Regions from separate parts of the Homo sapiens genome. Here region 2 is linked to region 1. The links are contacts of gene promoters, found by promoter capture Hi-C in blood cells and fetal thymus (Javierre and others, 2016). All regions are on one chromosome and are shown on one strand. Each heading gives the region's core, a stretch centred on a gene start or on the middle of the fragment in contact. The rest is flanking DNA. Distances are from core to core; before and after follow the strand shown. Region 1 holds the start of GPD2 (glycerol-3-phosphate dehydrogenase 2). Region 2 overlaps CYTIP (cytohesin 1 interacting protein).

Region 1 (2,935 bases), core at 300-2,799:
GAGTTATGCACAATAATCATCAAATCTTTTAAAATATCTACAATGAGATTAAATAGTTACAAAAAAAACTAAAGGGGGTGGTAACACTCACTAACAATTGGTAACACTGTGGCCCTTTTGTCAATTCCTGAACCAAGCCATTGCATCTTTGAATGAATCACAAGGGAGAAAGAAGGAAGCAGAGCTCTAATGCTGTTTAGAATTTCTTTATAAAATAAAGTGACTCTATAAGCTATGAGAATGGACAGTTGCAATGAATCCATTGTTGGTTCTCAAACCCAAAACCCCATATTTACCCATTTATTCATTAAAATATTGCTGTATTATTTCACGAGTTGATTTGTAAAAGTCAAGGGAGTGTTGTAATTTGACATAACGCCCCTGTGAGAAACAGAGGGGGGTTTCAACATCCACATCACAAGGTTCCCCAGACTGCACACGGTCTCCATTGGGCAATGGCATCCAGATGTCATGTGGTAGCCAGCAAGAACTGTAGGACTGGGACTAGAGTGGTCAGTAGCTACGAAGAAGTGCCTGGGCCCAGTGTGACAGCTGCCAGCACCGTCCACACGCCAAAAAGAAACTTCACATCTCTTTAAACTTGGAACACATGCAAAATACTAACAGTTTTGTTTTAGCAATAAAGACTCCCTGTCACTTACTAACTTCCTTCCCTCACCTATTTATACAAGTATAAGTTGACTAGCTGCTATTTCTATAGCTGCCTCCTATGATATTTATAATGTGTTGTGTGTGATTTGGGTTGCCCATGTCACTAACACTTTGCAAGAATTTGTGTTTGTAAATTACTCTGGAACTCTTCTGGGAGTGAATATTCCACTGCACAAGGTGGAAGCCAGACTAGAGACCATCTGCTAAGAGCAGCACTTCATTCACCCAGCTACACCTTCCTGCCAAAGCACTCTTTGCAAATCTATTTTTGCTGGTAGAAGTTACTACATAGGGAGTGGAGGCTGTTTTAAGTTATCAGTGTGCACCTTCCATTTCCTCCTAGGACGGTCACACGCCAGCAGCTGAGTTTCTCAAAGAAGCCTCAGCCCTCCTCCAGACTCGTTCTCACTCTTGCTTCGGAAGGGAGCAACAATCCTTATCAGACTAGCCGCATCTACAAGCTAAAAGTTTGCATGAACTTTCAATGGGGTACCAACCCTCGCCCCAAAAGTCCTGCCACTTTACTATTTTACAAATGCCGCCTCCAAAACATAAACAACGAAACCCTAGAGAAGAGCGAATCCATCTTCTGCTGGTGGGAAGAAATTCTAAATCTTTCCCGTTTCCCGCCACCACCTACCGCCAAGACTGGAGTCCCAGAACACTCGCCCGGGTCAGAAAGGGACCACTCCCCCCCTAGAATACTAGAGGCGGGGGAAGGGGTCTCCCAGGAAGCACACACCTGAGATAGATCCTCACGCGCGAGGGGCCAGCGGGCAGGAGCACCCAGTTCCTCCAGCCAGGGTGGAGTCGGCCTCCCCCCAGAATCAGAGCCTCGGCCCGGGTGCTCCCAGCGAGGCGCGCGGGGCTGTCACTCGAGGCGGGCTGGGCGGGTGTAACTCGAGCGCCGGGCGGGCCGCGCCCCCGCCTTCCCTCTTCCCGACTTCCTCCTCCCGCTCCCGCGCCTGCTCCCTCCCGGAGGCCTGACCAGGGCGGCGAGGCCGCCACCTCCTGCCCGGATACCTCGGGCCCAGGCTCCTCCGGCCCAGCGGGGAAACGCGGAAGTGGGGGCGGGAACCGGGGCCGGGGTTGGCGGGGGTGTGGGAGGGAAAAGCCAACAGCGGGCGGCGAGCGAGGTGGTCTCCGTGGCCCAATGAACGTGACTAGACGGGGACGCGGGTCCTGCCGCCGGGTGGGGTCGCGCAGCGCCACACGCAAGGGCCCTCGCCCCTGGCTGCAGTTCCTGCTTTGTGCCTCGGCGATGCCGGACTCCAGACCTCCGCCCCGCCTTGCCAGCGGGCTGGCGGACTGGAAAGCCTGAGCTAGGCCAGGCTGGGGAAGACGGTGGCGGTGTCCGATTTCCTGTGCCCTCGCCCATGCGGGCCGCCCTGGCCATCTGCCTGCGGGAGAGGAGACACTCGTCCGCCGGCACGCTGGCGGGGCTGGCTTACCTGACGACTTCTCGTTGTCCGCCCTGGGATCTGGCTTCTCCTACTCTGTACCTCCCGGCCGGCAGGCTTCCCTAGGCCTACAGACGTGTCCAGGAGGCGGGCGACCCTGCGACCCCGCCGTCAGAGCCCAGAACCCTCGCCCGGCTCCCCCGGCGGGCTCTGGAGGCGCGCCAGGCCTCCTGGCTCCCCGCCTGAATGTCAGCGCAGGGACCCGCAGGGAAGACCAAGCCCAAGCTCCAGGGGGTGGAATGCTGAGCACAGGTTCCCCAGACCCAGCCTCATACAGGTGGGGGGAGGCGGAGAGCCCCGGCAGCTGAACAGCAGGCTTCCCACTTGCAACCCCCCGCCACCCAAAAAAAAAAAACGACCCTGCCCACTGAGCATGCCCAGCTTACTTGTTGGAACTCCTAGGGCTAGACAAGCCCAAGGGGACCTAAGGAAGGCAAAGTTGGGGCTCAAATGGACCCCACTTCTTTAACAGCTTTGCTCCGAAGACCTCTGGGTGCTGTACTAATAACCTTTCTATCGTGGTATTGGAAAATATCCAGGAGATGGACGGAAATGCCTTTCCAAAAGAAGGAAGAAAATTAGTGTGAACCAAAAAGCAGTGGTATTTTTTTAAATAAAGTATTAAGTCACTCATTTAATGTCCTTAAATACCGCAGAATTCCTGTAGTTGACCCAGAGGAATGCATATATTTATTAAATCCCAAACTCAGTAACTTCAGGGAACCATCCATAGTCCACAGAGGAGCAATGATTCTCACCCTTGGACACATTAAAATTGGGGGGAGGGGGCAGGGAGGGGTGGA
Region 2 (2,935 bases), core at 236-2,735, 1.0 Mb before region 1:
TGCTATGCTTCTCATGTTGTGCTAGACAAATATTTTCATCTTTAACTAGTCAATTAGCTAGATAGAAAGGTTAGAAGTAGAGTGGTGGGGGAAATATCTATAGAGGCTTCAGGTCTGTCCTGTGGTTTAAAAGATTTTACATTTGAATCTATCCAGAATGACTTTTGATTCAAAAGACCGATTGGATGAAATCTTGAAGTTCCTAATAGATGCACTGATTTCCGGCATACTAAAAGGGTATTTAAAATTGACAAGGCTCAAAATTTTACTAATAATTTATTAATTCTTGCCACCATTCATCCACTTAGCAGCTATGTACTAAGGCACTACTATCTTTGTTTTCTGTTAGTACTTTTTCTGCATTTCTTGTTTCGGATTGAATTTTTTTTTTTGTTCTTGTCTGTTTTCTTTCATTTAAAATTTTTTGGTTTTTAAAATTTGTACTTATTCAGTTGATATATAATCATACATACTCATGGTATACATAGTGATGTTTTGATACGTGGAATGTACAGTGATCAGATCAGAGTAATTAGCATATCCATCACCTCCCTCACACAATGATCATTTCTTCATTTTGGGACTGTTGAATATCCTCCTTCTAACTATTTGAAACTAGTACATGATATACTATTGTTAACTATAGTTAGCCTACAGTATAGAGCACTAGAACTTATTCTTCCTATCTAGCTGTAATTTTTTATCCTTTAACAAGTGTGTCCCTATCCATTTCTTCCCCCAACCCTTCCCAGCCTCTAGTATCCTCTGTTCTACTTTTTACTTCTATGAGATCAACTTTTTTTAGCTTCCACATATGAGTGAGAACATGTGGTGTTTAACTTTCTATTCCTGGCTTATCTCACTTAACATAATGTCTTCCAGTTCAATCCATGTTGCTGTGAATGACAGGATTTCATTCTTTTTTATGGCTGAATTGTATTCCATGGTGTATATATACCACATTTTCTTTATCCATTCATCTGTTGTTGGACACCTAGGCTGATGCCATCTCTTGGCTATTGTGAATAGTGCTGTAATAAACATGGGAGTGCAGATGTCTCTTCGATATAATGATTTCCTTTCCTTTGGATGAATTCCCAGTAGTGGGATTGCGGGATCATATGGTAGTTCTATTTGTAGTTGTTTGAGGGACCTCCATACTGTTCTCCATAGTGGCTGTACTAATTTACATTCCCACTAACAGTGTATGAAAGTTCCCTTTTCTCCTTATCCTCACCAGCATTTATTATTTATTGTCATTTTGATCATAGCTATCCTAACTGGTGTGAGATGATACCTCATTGTGGTTTTAATTTCCATTACCCCAATGATGAGTGATATTGAGCATTTTTTCATATATTTGTTAGCCATTTGTATGTCTTCTTTTTCTTCCTTTCTTTTTTTTTTTTCTTTTTTTTTTTGAGATGGAGTCTCACTCTGTCGCCAGGCTGGAGTGCAATGGCATGATCTCAGCTCACTGCAACCTCCGCCGCCCGGGTTGAAGCGATTCTTCCAACTCAGCTTCCCTAGTATCTGGGATTACAGGCACCTGCCATCATGCCTGGCTAATTTTTGTATTTTTGTAGAGACGGGGTTTTACCATGTTGGCCAGGCTGATCTTGAACTCCTGAGCTCAGTTGATCCACCCTCCTTGGCCTCCCAAAGTGCTGGGATTACAGGTGTGAGCCACCATGCCCAGTCTTGTATAGCTTCCTTTGAGGAACGTCTGTTCAGATCATTTGCCCATTTTTAAATTTTTTTTTTTCTGTTGAGGTATTTTAGTTCATTATATATTCTGGATATATAAATGAGTAGTTTGCAAATATTTCCTTCCATTCCACAGGTAGTCTTTTCACTCTGTTAATTGTTTGCTGTGCAGAATCTTTTTAGTTTAATATAACCCCATTAGTTTATTTTTGCTTTTGTTGCCTGTTTTTTGAAGGTCTTATTCATAAAATTTTTTCCCAATCCAATATGCTAAAGCCTTTCCCCTATGTTTTATTCCAGTAGTTTTATTGTCTCAGGTTTTACATGAAGGTTTTGATCCATTTACTTATTTTCAGTTGATTTCTGTATAGAGTGAGAGGTATGGTCTAGTTTCTTTCTTCTGCATATGGATATACAGTTGTCTGTTTTCTTTCATTTTTAAATCTTGCTACATATTTAAGATTTTTAAATTTTACTTTATGTATTTTAGTGATTATCCTTGAGTTTTTCCTATGATATTGAATTTAATAAAGGACAATGTTGAAGACTATCTTTACATATTTCTCCTGAACGTGAATATTTAATGTGGCTCTTCAACCATCTCAGTTGCTTCCATTTTCGTTTAGTAGTTTATTTATTTTTATCTATTTCTCCATTTTTAAGTTTCCATTCTATTCCAGGCCCTGTGTTGGGCATTGGGGCAGAAAGTAAAACAAATAACATTCCCCAAGAGGTCCAAATCACACAGATGATTATGTACAGATGTGAAGTATTTGATCCAGTATGCATTTCATATAAATATATACATATATGTATACATATATATATAGCTCTCTCTATATGGATATATGAATAATATGATGAATACTGATAGCAAGAGTAATACCTTAAAAATATAAGCCCTTATTTATAGAGGTATAAGAAACTTTTATAAAAAGAATAAAAAAGCCCTAGTTATCATTACGTAATTTGGCTTAAGGGCGGAAAACAAGCAGCTGAAGATAATAAAAATAGATTAAGAAAATATGAGTACAATATAAGGGAGAGACTGAGAATGCTTGGAAATATCAAGTTTGTGGCTCTCTTCTGCAAGGAAGCCCACTAACATAGATGAATAGTCCCTATCCTTGGTAACGGTACATACGAGGTACAAAATCAGGTTACAACAAACCATACCAATCCTTGTAGGCATTCCACAGTTAGTGCTTATAAATTGAAAAGAGATACT

Evidence for each region. Contacts are between HindIII fragments. The CHiCAGO score rates a contact against its expected background, and 5 or more counts as called.
Region 2: a fragment that was not itself captured here is called in contact with the fragment with the promoter of GPD2 in region 1 in 3 of 17 cell types (M1 macrophages, M0 macrophages and M2 macrophages); the score reaches 7.2 in M1 macrophages.

What each region holds. Positions count from the first base shown.
Region 1 is chr2:156,434,993-156,437,927 of GRCh38, reverse strand. GPD2 (glycerol-3-phosphate dehydrogenase 2) reads right to left here and starts at 1,549. Exons shown (of 17, transcript NM_000408.5): 1 at 1,415-1,549. RefSeq lists silencers at 1,428-1,837, 2,278-2,447 and an enhancer at 1,988-2,037. The HindIII fragment of the contact is 5,965 bases long and covers 1-2,935 here.
Region 2 is chr2:157,436,185-157,439,119 of GRCh38, reverse strand. The region is part of intron 1 of CYTIP (cytohesin 1 interacting protein); the gene reads left to right. Among named protein-coding and RNA genes, the nearest start is that of CYTIP, 6.4 kb to the left of the region's middle. RefSeq lists an enhancer at 16-85. The HindIII fragment of the contact is 4,220 bases long and covers 1-2,935 here.